3 separate regions of the Homo sapiens genome follow, and regions 2 and 3 are each linked to region 1. Evidence: promoter capture Hi-C in human tissues and cell types (Jung and others, 2019). All regions are on one chromosome and are shown on one strand. The core of a region is centred on a gene start or on the middle of the fragment in contact, and the rest is flanking DNA. Distances in the headings are between cores, read along the strand shown.

Region 1 (2,700 bases), core at 17-2,516:
GAGAGTAAAAGCAAAAAGGATTTTTAATTTTTAAAGCTTTTTTTTGTTTGGTTGGTTTTGGCTTTTTATTTGAGATGTGGTTTTTCTCTGTTGCCCAGGCTGGAGTGCAGTGGCCCAATCACGGCTCACTGCAGCCGGGACCTCCAGGGCACAAGCAAACCTTCCACCTCTGAGTAGCTGGGACTACAGGCGCAAGCCACCACGCCCATCTCACTTTTTAAAATTTTTCTGTAGAGACGGGCTCTCGTCATGTTGCCCAGGATGGTCTCAAACTCCCGGGCTCAAGCCATCCTCCTGCCATAGCCTCCCAAAGTGCTGGGATTACAGGTGTGGGCCACTGCGTCCGAACATGGATTTTCTTTTTAAGTTTAGAAAGACCAATTTGGGTTTTTTAATGTTTAAGTGTGGAAGCTGAAGCCTGTTCAGTCTGCGCCTGGAATGGCAAGGGGAGTGTGACTGTTCGGAGAAAAGGGGCATCAAAACCGGGCGTCGAGGCTGGGAGCGGTGGCTCATGCCTGTAATCCCAGCACTTTGGGAGGCCGAGGCGGGTGAATCACCTGAGGTCGGGAGTTAGAGACCATCCTGGCCAACATGGTGAAACCCCGTCTCTACTCAAAATACAAAAATTAGCCAGGCGTTCTGGCGCCTACCTGTAATCCCACGTACTCCGGAGGCTGAGGCAGGAGAATCACTCGAACCCAGGATGAGGAGATTGCAGTGAGCCGTGATCGCGTCACCGCACCCCAGCCTGGGTGACAGAGCAAGACTCTGTCTCAAAAAAAACCGGGCGTCAAGGAAGGAACCCGCGTGCGCCCTTAGCCTGCTCTGCCGAAATGAGCCATGAACTAGTCCCAGCCCCGCAGTGGGGCGCGGGGAGAGAGTGGGCGCCGGGGGACGCGACAGCCCGCGGTGGTGGGGAGGGCCGCCGCCCCCCGCGGGTTACTAAGCGACGGCCCTGCCTCCACCCTCTGCAGCCCCAGCAGGGCCGGCACCACTCCCTCGACAAAGCTGGAGCCGGGGACTGACCCGGGCCCTGAGCCGGCCCACAAGTCCTGGCGGACCCTACCGTCCCCCACCCCAGCCGCCACCCAGAACACGCGGGCGGTGAGCGACCCCTTCGACAAGGGGGCAGGGGACCCGCCGCGAGGTGAGGGGGAAAGAAGGGGACTCGCGTCCCGGCCCCGGCCGGACCTACCCTGCAGTAGGCGGATCTGCCGCCGTAATATCTCCTTTTCCTCCATCTCCCGAGTCCGCGACGGCCGGCCAGGCCCCCACGACGTCATCGCTACGCGACCTTTTTCCCGCGGGCGGGGCGGAGCGGGCCAGGGCGGAGCTGCCAGGAGCAGGCCCGGATGTCTGCCGACCGCCGAGGACCCGCCGTCGCGCTGACAACGGCAGCGGAGAGGCAGAGCCGCGCACGCGCAGAACGAGGCGGGGACGTCACTAGTGAGCGCCGGGAAGTGGCCTGGTAACGGCTGGGAAGGGACTGCTTGGGCTCTGGGAGGCCGCGCGGGCCCAGCTTGTGCAGTCCGGGATCGCGTCCCCTTGGGAGACTTGGCGAGGGGCGAGACCTGGGGCCCACCCAGCCCATACCGCAGTTCCTTCCCACAGTCCCTGCGTTTCATTTCGCCCCAGTTGAGTGTTGGGGGGGGGGGGGTCTACGCGGGGACCCATGGGAGAAGGGCCAGTTAACAATTACTCTTGACCCAGGAGGGTCTGTGAAACCTCTTACTGTGGCCAGAGGAGAAGACATCGGAGAGCAAGGTTCCCTGGATAGACATGTTGAACCTCTGAAAACATGAAAGTTTTTAGTTCGTCATTGGAAACATGTACAAGTGTAAACCTCTGTGCGCTGTTGGTGGGAATGTAAATGGCGCAGCACCGCAGAAAACTATGGAGATTCCACAAAAGGTTAAAAGTAGAACTACCGGATATGAGGGCGATCTGGCTGCGACACCTGTCATCCCATTGATCGCCAGGGTTGATTCGGCTGATCTGGCTGGCTAGGCGGGTGTCCCCTTCCTTCCTCACTGCTTCATGTGCGTCCCTCCCGAAGCTGCAGCTCAGTCGAAGAGAACGACCATACCCAATAGAAGAGCTGGGCTTCCCTGGTAGAACCTCCAAACAAGCTCTCAAGGTCCATTTGTAGGAGAAGGTAGGGTAGTCAAGATTCCAGACACATCCAAATGAGGCGCTGCATGTGGCAATCTGCCTTTCTAGGAGAAAACAAAAATGGAACTACGGTATGATCCAGCAACCCTACTTCTGGCTATATTCCCAAAAGAATGGAAACCAGAGACTCAAACATATTTGTGCCCCCATGTTCACTGCAGCATTTTTCCCAATAGCCAAAAGACGGAAACAACCCAAGTGTCCACGGGTGGATGGAAGGATAAACAAAATGTGATCCATACAAACAATGAAATATTTTTCAGCCTTAAAATGGAAGGAAATTCGGCCGGGCGCAGTGGCTCACGCCTGTAATCCTAGCACTTTGGGAGGCTGAGGCGGGCGGATCACGAGGTCAGGAGTTTTGAGACAAGCGTGGTCAACATGGTGAAACCCCGTCTCTGCTAAAAATATAAAAAATTAGCCAGGCGTGGTGGCGCACACCTGTGGTCCCAGCTACTCAGGAGGCTGAGGCAGAAGAATCGCTTGAACCCAGGAGGCGGAGGTTGCAATGAGCCAAGATCAAGCCAC
Region 2 (2,737 bases), core at 12-2,511, 210 kb before region 1:
TAAAGTAGGGAGAAGTTAACGGGCTCAAGAACCTTCCAGGGTGGAGCCGGGCGTGGTGGCTCACGCCTGTGATCCCAGCACTTTGGGAGGCTGAGGCAGGCTCAGGAGCTCAAGGCCAGCCTGGCCAACATGGCGAAAGTACAAAAAAACTAGCTGGCAGATGCTGCAGGCAGCTGGAGTCTGGAGGGAGACTCGGGGAGAGGGGGGTTCTGCTGACTCTGCAGAGCTTTTCCACGTCAGGTGAGACCAGCCTCACCTTTCTTACAGGTTTTAGGAGTTCAAGAGAGCCCACCAGCCCTGATACAGCATGTCTAGGGTGGGGCTGGTAGGAGGCTGCACCACTAAGTGCCCTGAAGGATGCAAACCTAGACAACGCCTTCTTAGAGAATAAGGGAAGATGGATCATGTCGGGTGTGAGAAAATGGGAAACCACGTGTATCTCGGAACTAACTGATAGGAGCCAGGCGCGGTGACTCACGCCTGTAATACCAGCACTTTGGGAGGCCGAGGCGGGCGGATCACTTGAGGCCAGGAGTTCGAGACCCGCCTGGCCAACATGGCAAAACCCCCGTCTCTACTAAAAATACAAAAATTAGCTAGGCGTGGTGGCGGGTGCCTGTAATCCCAGCTACTCAAGGAGGCTGAAGCAGGAGAATCACTTGAACCCAGGAGGCAGAGGTTGCAGTGAGTTGAAATTGCACCACTGCACTCCAGCCTGGGTGACAGGGCAAGATTTTGTCTCAAATAATAATAATAAAAATAAAAATAAAGAACTGACAGTGACCCTGACTGCCAAGTCCTTCACAAAGCCTCTAGGGTAGTCACATCACCAGTCTCATTTCACAGATGAAGACACTGAGGTGAAACAACCTGCCGGCCAGCGGCCAGGCAGGGCTGCACCACTGGGTGTGCGCTCAAGCCCAACTGAGGGCTGCACATTGTAGTGACATTCTTTCACCCCTGCAGAGACCAGGGCACCAAGCACCACCATCAGACACAAGCTGGCTTTCAAAGCCAGAGACCTTGCTCCAAACCCACCTGTCCACCTGGGCGACTGCAGCTCAGCAGCACTTTTTGGAAAGCACCTACCTGCCTGTGCACCCTCGGAGAGATGTGCCTCAATGCAGGGCCCACAGCCAGCCCCAGCTCCAAGCGCAGGCCAGAACTCCCTCCTCCCAAGACACCCTGCCCCATCTGGGGCTCTCTTTGGGTCCCAAGCTCCTGCAGGCAGACAGGACATTTCTGCAGCATGGCCTTAGGCAGCTGTGCAGGCCCTCAGCTGTGAATGGGTATGCTGATAGCGCACCACCAGGTCACAGAGACATGCCACGCTGGAAGCACTAAGTGAATGATGATAAACCGCGAGACCTGGCGGGAACTCCTGCAGGATCTCCCACGCACCAGTGAGGCTGTCAACTCTCCAGCTCTTCGGAAACTCCAGCATTTCATGCGCAGAGACCCATCCCCATGCGGCTACCCCAGGCCCAGTATGCGCCGGCAGGGCTTCTCACATGTCCTCCAGGAAAGCGCCTGGGACCACCAACGGCCACCAGGGCCACTGGATCCATGCGGCTTGTGCCTGGTGATGTAGATATGACAGTGAGCGCCCGCCGCCATGCAGAATCGGTCCTGGAGACAACCCGGGAACCGACTCCAGGAAAGAGCGGGTCTCAGAAGACCATGCACAGCAACATAAGCTTTTTATAAAGTACCTAACCAAACCCTACAGTGTTGAGGCCCAGGCACAGCTACACAAATGATGAAACCACAAGCGGAAAAAAAGAGGGGAGATTTCCCCAAATAGGGTTGGTGGGGTGGTGCCTGGGGAAGCAAGGGCGACGTCATGGGGGGGCCTGTACACCCCGGGCAGGAGGCGGGCCGGTCACACCGCGGCACGCATGCTCTCCTGGCCCGACTTTTGGGAAAACCGGAAGCAGGGCAAGGCCGTCCCACGAGGCCTGCCACTCCCCTTTCTGGACCTACCCAAGCCCGGTGCTCAGGGCCCTCGCCGCCTGCTCACTGGGACACCTTACCTGGCTCCACTGCCCTTCTGCGTCCTGCGCGAGCCCGGGACACCCCGGGAGGCCGGGCGGCGGGGGACCTCCCCGAGCAGCGTCAGAGCCGCCCGGAGCCGCAGCAGCCGCACCACGCGCATCTGCCAGCCTCCGGGAAAGAGCGACAAGCTGGGCCCCGCCCCAGCGGCCAGCCCCGCCCCGCCCCCAGCGGCCAGCCCCGCCCCCGAGCGCGGCCTCCGCCCCCAGCGGCGCTCATCCCAAGGCTGGGCGGTCTAAGCCTGCACGGGGCTGCGGCAGCAGGACCACTGACTGTCCTGCCGGCCTCCCCCTGGTTTCCCTGCCTTCGTGGTCCAGCGCCCCTTCACGCTGGGCGGGGACCCAGATCCAAACCCAGTCCCACTGACCTCTGCAGCACAGGGCTGGCTGTCAGGATGCCCCACAGGTCACACGACCAGGCCAGTGAACTCCTGCCCAGGGCTTGCACACAGCTCTCTCCCAGAGCCTCTGAGGGCAGGGGCACCTAGCAGGTCCTTCCTAAGTACACGCTCTGCTGCTCTGGAGAAGGGACCACACAGGCTCAGATGGCCCCCTACCTCATCCCCTACAAACAGCAGCACTTCCAGGACGCAGAAACCGGCAGAAGCACCTGCTGTCCAGCCCACAGCAGCCCCTCAGAGGTGGTGCCTCTGGACAAAGGTCACAGGAAGTCCTGCGAAATCATC
Region 3 (2,700 bases), core at 65-2,564, 240 kb after region 1:
CTACCTATAAGAAACAAGCTTTAAATGTAAAAGCACAAATAGTTGAAAATTAAAATGATAAAAACAAATATGCCAAGATAACACTAAACAGGATGCTGAAGTAACTGTATTAACATCAAGTAGATTTCAGAAAAAAGTATGTTACTAAGGATAAAAGAATCATTTAGTAATGACAAATGTAGGAATTCATCATGAGGACATAAAAATCCTAAATGTTCATGCAGCTACTAACAGGGTTTCAAAATGCATGAAGCAAAAACTATGAGAACTACAAGGAGAAATAAAGAGATCCACAATGGTAATAGGCGATTTTGCCATCTCTCTCTCCCCATAATTGATGAGACAAGTAGACGGAATATCAGCGATGATACCGAAGAGCTGAACCACGCTGTCCATCACCATCCCTTCATCATTCATCAGTCATCGTTTCCATACATTCACCCACTTCATCCATCTCGCCCCAGTATTGGTTTGCGCTTTCGCCAATTCATAATTATCTTATTAACTTGAGTCATTTATTTATTTATTTAGAGATGGAGTCTTGCTCTGTCACCCAGGCTGGAGGGCAGTGGCGCAATCTCACTGCAACCTCTGCCTCCCGGGTTTATGCGGTTCTCCTGCCTCAGCCTCCAGAGTAGCTGGGACTACAGGCATGCGCCACCACGCCCAGCTAATTTGTTCTTTTGTATGTTAAGTAGAGATGGGGTTTTGCCATGTTGGCCAGCTGGTTTCGAACTCCTGACCTCAGGTGGGCTGCCTGCCTCGGCCTCCCAAAGTGCTGGGATTACAGGTGTGAGCCACCATGCCCAGCCATGAGTCATTTATTTATAAACTTATAAATAAATTTATAAGCTTATATATAAATTTATGAACTTATAAACATATATAAATTTATAAACTTATAAGCTATCCACTCATTAATGTGCCCATTCCACCCTTACACCATGTTTAAATAATTATTCACTTATTTTTTATCTACTATTCATTCAGACATCCATTCATCCATTCATACACGCATTCATGCTGTTTACTTGACAGAAAATTATGAGAAAGCAAAGAAGGACTGTGTCTCGTTCACCCCTTAATCGTATGCCCCAGTATTGGTTGACCACGATAGGCACTGAAACATTTTGTTGAACGATGAATTCATCCATCAATTCATCCATCCAGTTGCTCAACTAACCATTTGCTTATCTCACGTATCCATTCTTTACACTCATTCATCTATTAATTTTTCATGTATCAGTTCATCATTTAATCAGTTCATTCAATTAATCTAATCTTCATTCTCTTATAGTTTAATTCATTAATTTACTCATTCATTCATCATTTATTGCCTATTCATTAAGACACTCGTAAGTTTACTCGTTATATTATCCTTTTATTTTCTGTCTTCATTCATTTTCCGTCTACTCCAGTTCTTCCACTTACAGACAGAACTTTGGCAAGTTCTGAAGCTTATTTGAATCTGTTTCCATATATTCAGAAATGGGACTAATAACAGCTTTTTGAAGATTCATGAGATAGTGAATGAAATTCCTTGGCACAATTCCTGGTGCAAAGTCAGTTCTCAAGAAATGGTAGCTATTATTATTTTAAATGAGTATCACAATTTCTTTTAAGTTACAAAATCATTGCCTCATTCGTATGTCTGTTCACTCTTCCATCCTATTTATCTAGTTATCCATTCATCCCTTCTCTCATTTTAGCTACTCCTTGATTTTATACATCTTCAGACTTTCCTTTTTAATTACAAATGACATACAGAATATTGCAGAAATCAAAGTTGTGGCTCAATTATTTACCACAAAGGAAATACTCATGTAGTAACTACCTGACTCAAGAAATAAAGTATCGCCAGAACACCACACCTCTCCCCAGATCATCATATCCTGAATTTTATAGTGCTTGCTTCCTTCTTTTTTTCAAGTTACAAAACTTTCCTGAAATATGTATAAAGTTCCCAGTTTAATCCTCTCAACAAACCTGATTGTAGTATTATTAATATTCCTACATTATATACAAAGACTTTATTATATACAAAGAAACTTAAGCACAGAGATGTTAAGTCATCTTTTTTTAACTTTTCTTTTAGGTTTGGGGGTACATGTGAAGGTTTGTTATGCAGGTGACATAGTCATGGGGATTTGTCGTACAGATTATTTCCTCACCAGGAACTAAGCCCAGTACCCAATAGTTTTCTGCTCCCCTCCCTCCTCCCACCCTCCACCCTCAAGTAGATCCTAGTATCTGTTGTTTCCTTCTTTGTGTTCCTAAGTTCTCATCCTTTAGCTCCCGTTTACAGGTGAGAACATGTGGTGTTTGGTTTTCTGTTCCTGCGATAGTTTGCTGAGGATAATGGCCTCCAGCTCCATCCATGTTCCTGCAAAGGACATGATCTCATTCTTTTTTTATGGCTGCATAGTATTCCACGGTGTGCATGTACCACATTTTCTTTATCTTGTCTGTCACTGATGGGCATTTAGGTTGAGTCCATGTCTTTGCTATTGTGAATAGTGCTGCAGTCAACATATGCGTGCATGTGTCTTTATGGTACACTGCTTTATATTCCTCTGGGTATATACCCAGTAATGGGATTGCTGGGTCCAATGGTAGTTCTGCTTTTAGGTCTTTGAGGAATTCCCATACTGCTTTCCACAGTGGCTGAACTAATTTATACTCCCACCAACAGTGTGTGTG

The links. Contacts are between HindIII fragments. The study calls those that stand out against the background at their distance.
Region 2: a fragment that was not itself captured here is called in contact with the fragment with the promoter of ZC3H3 in region 1 in 2 of the 25 tissues and cell types used here (IMR-90 fibroblasts and lymphoblastoid cells).
Region 3: a fragment that was not itself captured here is called in contact with the fragment with the promoter of ZC3H3 in region 1 in 1 of the 25 tissues and cell types used here (dorsolateral prefrontal cortex).

What each region holds. Positions count from the first base shown.
Region 1 is chr8:143,540,181-143,542,880 of GRCh38, forward strand. ZC3H3 (zinc finger CCCH-type containing 3) reads right to left here and starts at 1,267. Exons shown (of 12, transcript NM_015117.3): 1 at 1,196-1,267. The coding sequence starts at 1,241. It also overlaps the pseudogene RN7SKP175. The HindIII fragment of the contact is 13,358 bases long and covers 1-2,700 here.
Region 2 is chr8:143,332,707-143,335,443 of GRCh38, forward strand. TOP1MT (DNA topoisomerase I mitochondrial) reads right to left here and starts at 2,174. Exons shown (of 14, transcript NM_052963.3): 1 at 2,034-2,174. The coding sequence starts at 2,155. RefSeq lists enhancers at 1,398-2,082, 1,622-1,671 and a silencer at 1,872-2,331. The HindIII fragment of the contact is 3,497 bases long and covers 1-2,737 here.
Region 3 is chr8:143,778,255-143,780,954 of GRCh38, forward strand. All of the region lies in intron 7 of IQANK1 (IQ motif and ankyrin repeat containing 1), which reads left to right. Among named protein-coding and RNA genes, the nearest start is that of MIR937, 33 kb to the right of the region's middle. The HindIII fragment of the contact is 4,347 bases long and covers 1-2,700 here.